Regions from separate parts of the Homo sapiens genome. Here regions 1 and 2 are each linked to region 3. The links are contacts of gene promoters, found by promoter capture Hi-C in human tissues and cell types (Jung and others, 2019). All regions are on one chromosome and are shown on one strand. The core of a region is centred on a gene start or on the middle of the fragment in contact, and the rest is flanking DNA. Distances in the headings are between cores, read along the strand shown.

The links. Contacts are between HindIII fragments. The study calls those that stand out against the background at their distance.
Region 1: the fragment with the promoter of DBNDD2 here is called in contact with the fragment with the promoter of WFDC6 in region 3 in 2 of the 25 tissues and cell types used here (heart left ventricle and mesendoderm cells).
Region 2: a contact is called between a fragment that was not itself captured here and the fragment with the promoter of WFDC6 in region 3, in 1 of the 25 tissues and cell types used here (hippocampus).

What each region holds. Positions count from the first base shown.
Region 1 is chr20:45,406,970-45,409,669 of GRCh38, forward strand. DBNDD2 (dysbindin domain containing 2) reads left to right here and starts at 1,320. Exons shown (of 3, transcript NM_001048225.4): 1 at 1,320-1,637; 2 at 1,832-1,969. The coding sequence starts at 1,499. SYS1-DBNDD2 (SYS1-DBNDD2 readthrough (NMD candidate)) reads left to right here. Exons shown (of 6, transcript NR_003189.2): 4 at 1,491-1,637; 5 at 1,832-1,969. LOC107985404 (a long non-coding RNA gene) reads right to left here and starts at 920. Exons shown (of 5, transcript XR_007067608.1): 1 at 780-920. RefSeq lists an enhancer at 1-457. The HindIII fragment of the contact is 23,713 bases long and covers 1-2,700 here.
Region 2 is chr20:45,299,649-45,302,461 of GRCh38, forward strand. MATN4 (matrilin 4) reads right to left here. Exons shown (of 10, transcript NM_001393530.1): 4 at 1,673-1,795; 5 at 1,454-1,576; 6 at 1,239-1,361. Among named protein-coding and RNA genes, the nearest start is that of RBPJL, 5.8 kb to the right of the region's middle. The HindIII fragment of the contact is 4,441 bases long and covers 1-2,813 here.
Region 3 is chr20:45,538,010-45,540,758 of GRCh38, forward strand. It overlaps WFDC6 (WAP four-disulfide core domain 6), which reads right to left and starts at 1,473. Exons shown (of 3, transcript NM_080827.2): 1 at 1,308-1,473; 2 at 1-85. The coding sequence starts at 1,398. It overlaps EPPIN-WFDC6 (EPPIN-WFDC6 readthrough), which reads right to left. Exons shown (of 5, transcript NM_001198986.2): 4 at 1-85. EPPIN (epididymal peptidase inhibitor) reads right to left here. Exons shown (of 4, transcript NM_020398.4): 4 at 2,617-2,749. LOC107987282 (a long non-coding RNA gene) reads left to right here. Exons shown (of 4, transcript XR_001754641.3): 3 at 527-670; 4 at 2,066-2,378. It also overlaps the pseudogene HSPD1P21. The HindIII fragment of the contact is 28,992 bases long and covers 1-2,749 here.

The sequences.
Region 1 (2,700 bases), core at 70-2,569, 130 kb before region 3:
CTCTTCACCCCCTTTCCAGTACCTATAGGTCGCGTAAACAACTCCCTTTCTCCAGCTCTGGGCTCCGCGGCCCCCCGGGGGACAGCTCCTTCAGTCTCGTGAGATCGGTGGGGTTAGGGGGAGGGGAAAAGAGAGGGGGTGTCCCAGAGCCCCTGGCCCCCGTCAGCTCCCCCACCTTGGCCTCTCCCTCCCCCTCCTCGCTGCTGGAGCACAGGCTCCAGGGGCCCTGGGTATTTTTAGCGTTGTGACCTGGGCGGCAGCTCTAAGAGCCTTTCCCGGGAATCGGCGTCAGCGCCTCGCTCCTCCGCCGCCAGCCCGCGGCCGCACGGTCTCCCCAGACTTCCGTGGCCCTGCCTTGGCCAGTCGGGGTTGGGTCCCTCTCCACCTCTGTGGCGCCCGTGGAGCTGGCCAGGGTCTGGGATACGCTGGGTGCAGATGAGGTGGGGAAGGCAGTCTGCGGAGGATGACGTCTGATCCTCAAGCTAGAAACTCCCTTGCCTCTGGTGATGGGCTCAGAGCAGAACGCCGGGAAGGAGATGAGCGAATGGGAATGAATGCACCGACCTGGGCTGGCCCATAGCCTCAGTGCTCTGGCAGGGTCTCAGCTTCTCAGCCCTAGGGGTCAGGAGGCCTGCTCTGAACTGGACCCAGAACCCGCCTTTCCAATTGCTCCTCACTGACTAATGGGGAGATAAGTCAGTGAGATGTGTCCCAGGAGGGGGACGCATAAAGAGCTGTTGGAGTTCAAAGGAAAGATGGTAGTCTCCTAAATAGCTCACCTTCACAAGCAGGGTCTTGTATTTGAGGCAGGTAGGTTGGTTATGCCATTTTCAGATGGGGAGACTAAGACCAGAAAGGTGATTTCCTTAGGGGCAGAGCCTAGTCTGGAAGTCAGGCCTGTGACTTCAGAGCAAGGGTTTGGGGTAGATGGCACATGCGTGTGTACGTGTTTGTGTGGGTGGAGAGAAAAGGAGGGGCGCGGGAGGAGTTGCTTTAGCCTTTGTCTGGGTTTTGAAGGATGGGAAGGGGTGGGCTGCAGCACTGGAGGAAGGGAACCCTCCACCCTGAGATCTCTGTCTCTATCCTATCCTGTCCCTGGCCTTCTGAGGCAAGCGGGGCCAATTAAGGGGAAAACGTACCTCCTCCATTTGTGCTGAACCAATCCCTCCAACCCCTCTCAGGAGGGCATGATATGGAGAGTTGGGCATTGGCTGTGTTCCCTGAATACAGAGTATCTCTCTTGTGGTGCCTGGAACTGGCATCCCCTTTGTGGAGCTTAGGGCAAGCCCCGCCTCTGCATGAGACTTGGTTTGTGGGACACACTTGGTTTCAGGGAAGGGGAAAGAGGTCACCAAGGGCAGAGGTGTCCAGGCCGGAGCCAGGGGCCCCACTGTTGGGATGCTGGCTGCAGTGGGGCGCCCCAAGCCCAGGTCCCCTCTGTCTTCTCTTTCGACTTTGCAGCTGTACTTGTTTTGCTCCTCTACCCGCAGGAGCTGACATGGACCCAAATCCTCGGGCCGCCCTGGAGCGCCAGCAGCTCCGCCTTCGGGAGCGGCAAAAATTCTTCGAGGACATTTTACAGCCAGAGACAGAGTTTGTCTTTCCTCTGTCCCATCTGCATCTCGAGTCGCAGAGACGTAAGTCCCAAGTCCTGAGAAGAGGGACTGGGGTAGGGTAGGGAGGATGTCCTGTGGGTCCTGAATCTTGTGGCACTCTCTCCCCTCTGGTTTTCTTGGCCCTCTATGCTTCTAACTTGGGACCTGACATGTAACTCTCACTGTCCTGGTGTGCAGCTTGGGTCCTCCTGACTTGCCCACTTCTTGATCCGCAGCCCCCATAGGTAGTATCTCATCCATGGAAGTGAATGTGGACACACTGGAGCAAGTAGAACTTATTGACCTTGGGGACCCGGATGCAGCAGATGTGTTCTTGCCTTGCGAAGATCCTCCACCAACCCCCCAGTCGTCTGGTATGCCCCTCTGCTTTGGGGACTTCAGTGCCAGTCAGCCAGAGCCGGATGTCAGGCTCTGAAACGAGGCTACAAGGCTGGGCTGGGGAAGTACACAAGTAAGGGCTGGAAGTGGGTGTTTCTACCAATGAAACAGCTGCCTGTTCTGATTTTAGGGAAGTTGACCCTGAGGGAGAACTGGGTTACACATCTCTAATCCAAAATTCTGGGAACGGTCAATCTCTTCTTTAATTTTACATTTGTTATATTAATATAATTAGTCACTATAATTAAAATAATGTAAAATTGTAATTTTTATATTTGGCAACTTAAGTAGTTTTAGTCATTATAATGATATTAATATGTATTGAGTACTTTAGTAGGTTCCAATACTGTACTAAAGTACTTTACATATATTATCTCAATCCTTACAACGTCCTGTCAGGGTAGGTGATATAATCTCTATTTTATAAGCAGGAAATTAGGCTCAGAGAAGTTAAGTCACATTGTAGCCAGAAGGTAGATAAACTGGAATTCATGTCTGTCTGACTCCAAAGCCCATATGCTTAACTTGTAAGATAGATATTCTTTTAATTAAAACTGCTACTATTTATTGATGGCTTACTATGCCAGACATTTTATAAGCATTCTTAGGTTTTATTCCCAAAACCCTTTGGGGATGTAGGTATCCCTTTTATTTTGCAGAGGAGGAACAGAGTCCTTGAAAGGGAAAGTGACTTGCTCAAAGCCAC
Region 2 (2,813 bases), core at 136-2,635, 240 kb before region 3:
GGGCAGATCACTTGAGGTTAGGAGTTCGAGACCAGCCTGGCTGAGATGGCAAAACCCCATCTCCACTAAAAATACAAAAATTAGCCAAGCATGGTGGGGCACACCTGTAGTCTCAGCTACTCCAGAGGCTGTAACAGGAGAATCAGTTGAGCCCCAGAGGCAGAGGTTGCAGTGAGCCGACATCGCGCCACTGCACTCCAGCCCGAGAAACAGAGGGAGACTTAGTCTCAAAAAAAAAAAAAAAAAAAAAAGTCGAAGAGGGCTTGCTTCCTGTCTTCACCATGTGAGGACACAGCAAGAAAATTGGTGTGTGTGGGTGTGTGTGTGTAGGGGTGTGTGTGTGTGTGTGTGTGTTGGCGTGGGGAGGCTTTGAAAGGTGTGCCATCTAAGAATCAGAAAACAGGCCTTCTTTAGACACCATATCTGCTGGCACCTTGGTCTTGGACTCCTCAGCCTCCAGAATTGTGAAAACTAAATGTCTAGTCTACAGTACTTTGATATAGCAGCCTGAATGATCTAAGACAGTCTTGAAAGATCAGTAGGAGTTTGCCAAGGCAGTAAGGGACAGTCTAGAAGGTGAGATGCAGCACGTGCAGAGGCTTGGGATCTGGGGAGATCCTGACACATCCGGGGAGGGGCAGGCCAGTAAGACTGAAATGTTCAAGTGTGGCAGGAGATGGGCAGATGGAGTTGGCTGAAGCTAGATCGTGATGACCTAAGGCAGTGGTTTCAAAATTTTTATCACAGCCCACAGTAAAAATAATAATAATGACAATACATCATGAGACATTTCACACAGAACTAAAATTTCAGAAATAATATAACTCTTTCTACAGGCAGTAAACTCTATATTGTCTTCCACTCTTTTTTTTTTAATGTTGGTTGTAACCCAGTAATTTGATTTCATTATTCATTAATGTGGTTCTGCTCACCATTTGAAATACTTAGGGGTAAGTCATTTGATCTTTCTCCTGTAGTCATTGGTGAGCCACAGAAGGCTTGTGCACAAAGGAGGAATGTGATCAAATATGTATTTTTAAATTAACATTGACAGCAGAGTAGAGGATTGTAGGAAAGAGATGGAAGGAGGGAATGGCACACCCTCCAATGTCACCCCCACAACACACACAGACATTCACACCACAGCCTAGGGGCCACAGCAATGGCAAAGTCAAGGACACTCCAAATGTGGGCAATGGGGCAGAAGCCAACAGAACACCCTCCCGCCCATCACTCACGGTTGCAGCTCTTGCCATCTGCCTGAAGTTGCCGCCCCTCGGGGCACAGGCAGCGGTAGGAGAGGCCCTCGCTCACACACTGGAACTCACAGCCATGGTCCACGCCATTGCAAAGGTCCCGGACTGAAAGGAGAGACAGGTCAGGATGAGTCAGGATGGACCCCACCAGCTAAGATCTCTTACCCCTCCCACAAATGTAGGAGAGCCCTCCTCACCCTGACAGCTCCTCCCATCAGGCTGCAAGTCATGGCCCTCTCTGCAGTGGCACCGTGGCCCACCAGGGGTGCTAACACACTCATGCTGACAGCTATGGTTCCCAAAGCTGCAGTAGTCAATGGCTGGCAGGAGGGAAGAAACAGCAAGATGTTGCCTCTGATTGGAGCCCTCGGAGGCCACAGTCCAGGGTGTGGTGGGAGGGTGGGGGTGTTGCTCACCCCTGCAGCTCCTCTGGTCCTGCTGGAGTACAAAGCCAACTTGGCAGTGACAGAAATAGGAGCCTGGGGAATTGACGCAGTGGTGCTCACATCCATGGGTCCCTTCAGCACACAGATCAATGGCTGAGGAAGAAATGGGGTCAGTCTATGCCCAGGACTGCCCTTCTCAGCTCTGGTAGCACAACCACCTAAGGAAATTTTAAAGAATACCTACGCCTGGGCCCCAACCCCAAAAATCCTGACCTAATTAGTCAGGGCCCCTGTCCTCAAGATGCTCTCTGACTTACAGAGGACAGGTTTGGCCACTTTACCTATTTGAGCCTCCATTTTTCTATTTGCAAAATGGGAATATAATGGAAGACAGTGATTGCTATTCACAGCTTCCTTCCATGGAAGATGGGGAACTATTGCCCTGTTGAGCATCTTGATGATCTGGATAGGCAAAGATGGCCGAGAGCTGGACTGGAGAGAAGATAATTACCCTGTATAAAAAAGTGAGTATTTGGGGTTCCTGGAAAGGAGATGAGAGTGGAGAGAGGAAAGAAAAAAAAAAAAAAGAACAAGAGAGCCAGTATGAAGATGAGTAACTCTGTGGGTTGAGGCTGCCTGTGAAAAATCCCTTGTACTAGGCTGACTGAGGACTTTCAGAAACAAAGCTGTCTAATATTCAATTATAATGAGTTTTTCGTGTGTGTGTGCACGCGCTATGAGTTACTTAGCACATACACGCTTGTGTATGCCCCTGCATACACAAGTGTGTAAACCAACGAAGAGGTTGATTAACATGCATGGAACAAGAACAGCATGTGCAGGGTTGAGAAATGAGAGAGGATCCATAAATCAAATGAATTTAGCAGAGGCTCACAGCAAGAGGTGACAACCAGAAGATAAGCACTTGGGGGATTTCCAGAGGTCTTGGAGAGAGATTTGAATGTTAAACAGTCATCAAATCAGAGTTCAAGCCAACTTTTAGTTTCTAGAAACAAGAAGACCCCAGCTGACATCTGGGTTATTGGGATTACATGATTTCTTTTTCCAGGTTGTTGTGAGGCTGAGAGATAATAACATGTGTAATGCTCCTAGCACAATGTCTAATACTAACTTGGTACTCAGTAAAAAACTGAATTGAATAAGCGAGGTA
Region 3 (2,749 bases), core at 223-2,722:
TTCATGTTTTCTGGGCAATCTCTGGGTTTGGTACACTGGTCTATTTCTTCCACTTCGCATTCCACTTTGATTTTGGGACACGGCTCTAAGGGAGGGGAAGATATATTCCCTCAAGGCCTTAAAGGAGCCAGTGCTCCCCCTCCCCGAGACCAGGGCACCCCTCCAGAGTTAGAGAACTTTGTTTCCACTTCACCTATCCCCAGAAGGTAGTGGCCCTCAGGGGGCTCAGGAATTTCACAACACTGCTCACATCCCCAACCCCATAACAACTCACCATCGGATGCCTAAACCAACCCCTACCCCCTACCCGCACCATCTATGAGATTCCTGAGAGAAAGACGCATTCCTCTAAGACTGTTCTGGTCACTCAGCCTTGCTGTGCTTGGTTGCTCCCCCAGGAGGTGCTGTGGCTCTCGATGATTGAGATTAACATTTCTGGCATCAGATAGCTGGGCTTTTGAATTCTGTGAGACGCTTGGTGTGCCAGGCACTCTCTCTGAGCCTTGATTTCCTCATTTGCCCATAGGGTTGCTTTGAAGACTAACCAGCAACACAGTTTGACAAGCCATCGTCAAACTGCCTGGGGCAATGTAACGTAACAATGAGTAATATGGATGAAGCACTTACTGTGAGCTGCCTTTTCTCCTTAATCCTCATTACAAATCTATGGGTAAGTACTCTTAATATTCACATTTTGTAAACAGAAGAATTGGAAGCATAAGGAGATTATGTGAATTTGCCCAAGATCACACAGCTACTCAGGGGTGGAGCCAGGTTTGAACCTACAATGTGTGGCTCCTGAGTGCTCACTTTCAACCACTAATTTTCAGTGCCCAGTACAGTTAGCTGCTAATTGTGAGTCTTCACATTTCAGCATTCCAAGGGACTTCTGGAGACCATTCTTTAACCCAAAGACCAGGGTCCTCTGTGGGTATGGGTGTGGGGGCTGCAATGAGAACATTTGGAAGTTGACACAGGTGGTGTTGTGGGGAGCAGCCTGTTTTTCTTGTGGGAGACTTCCTTGGGCTTACTACTCCTTCTTAGTTCATTTCATGAGCTCTAGGTCCAGGCACCTCCAGGAAGAACTCTTTGGAATGGCAGCAAGGAGTCACTTGCCACAGATTTGGATGCCTGTATTCACCAAGGGAGTCTCTTACCAAGAGACTTCAAATAGCTCCCCTCTTTCCCACCTGGAATTCCAGGCAGAGGTGGAGAAAATAATTTCTCAGCTGCAAAATTATTCTTTGTTCCTTCCTCCCCACTGAGTTTCCTTTCCCCATTGCAAGGACGGAGTTCCCAATACTTACTGCCAAGGATGCCTTCAGCGTGCCCAGGTTCCTGGATGTCCCCCAAAAGGATGAATGGTACCAGGATTGGCAGAAGTCCTGAGAGTCCCATTTTAGGAAGTACTGGCCTGGTTGATGGCACCAAAACTAAGAACTGCTCCTCAGCAGCTCCTACATCTGCACTTTGCCTGCCCCGGTGTGGCCCAGCACCTTAAGAGACAGCCCTGGAGACAAGCCAGCCAGACTCCCCGATCAGGAACACCAGATCCCTGAGGCCATCAGTGGGACTACCTGGTACCTACACTGGGGGATAGGTGGCTCCTAATCCTCAGCAATCTGAGGCTTTCTGGTCTACCAGGGAAAGAGGGCACATGTTGTCTTGGGCTTTCCAGGCTCCCTTAGCAGAAGGGGAGGTTTAACTCCAGAGTCTTCCATTTCCCAGGGGGAGTTTGCAGGTTAACAGTATGCTAGCTCTCTTCCTTCTTTCTAATTTCACTCTTCTCCTGACATGTCTATTCTTATGTTTTATTTTTCTCACTCTGTTTCTTCTCTTTTCTGTGCATCTGTATGTCTTTTACTCTGTGCCTGTCTTTTTCTCAGGGAGTCTCTGTCTGTCTGAGTCTCTTTCTCCCCGCCCTTCACTTCCCTCTCTCTTCTTTCGTATGTAAAGATCAGTTACATTTATCCTTTAAGTCGTTTGATTTTGCAACAGTAAATAACTTCTTTCATTACTTTGGGACTTCTCCAACTCTGTTCTCCGTTTTTCCCTGTTGTCACAGCTACAGCATTGGATTAAAAGTCACACCCTGAAGCATTAACGCTTGAGCATCTGTACCAAGTTTTATATCCTTGGTATAAGCCCGAAGGAGGTGAGGAGCCAGTTACCTGGGCATCAGTTCCATCTGGCAAAGGACTGTGGGTAATGGAAGCATTTCTGCAGGGTGGCAGCAGGGTGTGTGTGCAGCAAGGCATGTCATCAGTGGTGAGTGAGAAGTTCATTCCTTTTTATGGCCGAATAATAGCCAATGCACATTGACAGCCTCCTACCTCTAGCATCAGTCCCTAATTTTCTGCTGTGGGTTTTCTCTGGCCCCCAGGGAGCTTGTATAGCTTGCAAGTATAACAGTTTGAAAGAGCGAGGGATTTAGTATCCCTGGCATCCAGTGGGCGTTGGGAATCAGTGGACAAATAGCTTAGCTTTCCCATCACTGGAGACAGATTAAGAAAATTTGTGGTCTGATATCCAGAATCTACAAGGAACTTAAACAAATTTACAAGAAAAAAAACAAACAACCCCATTGAAAAGTGGGCAAAGGACATGAACAGACACTTCTCAAAAGAAGACATTTATGCGGCCAACAAACATATGAAAAAAAGCTCAACACCAGTGATCATCAGAGAAATGCAAATCAAAACCACAATGAGATACCATCTCATGCCAGTCAGAATGGTGATTATTAAAA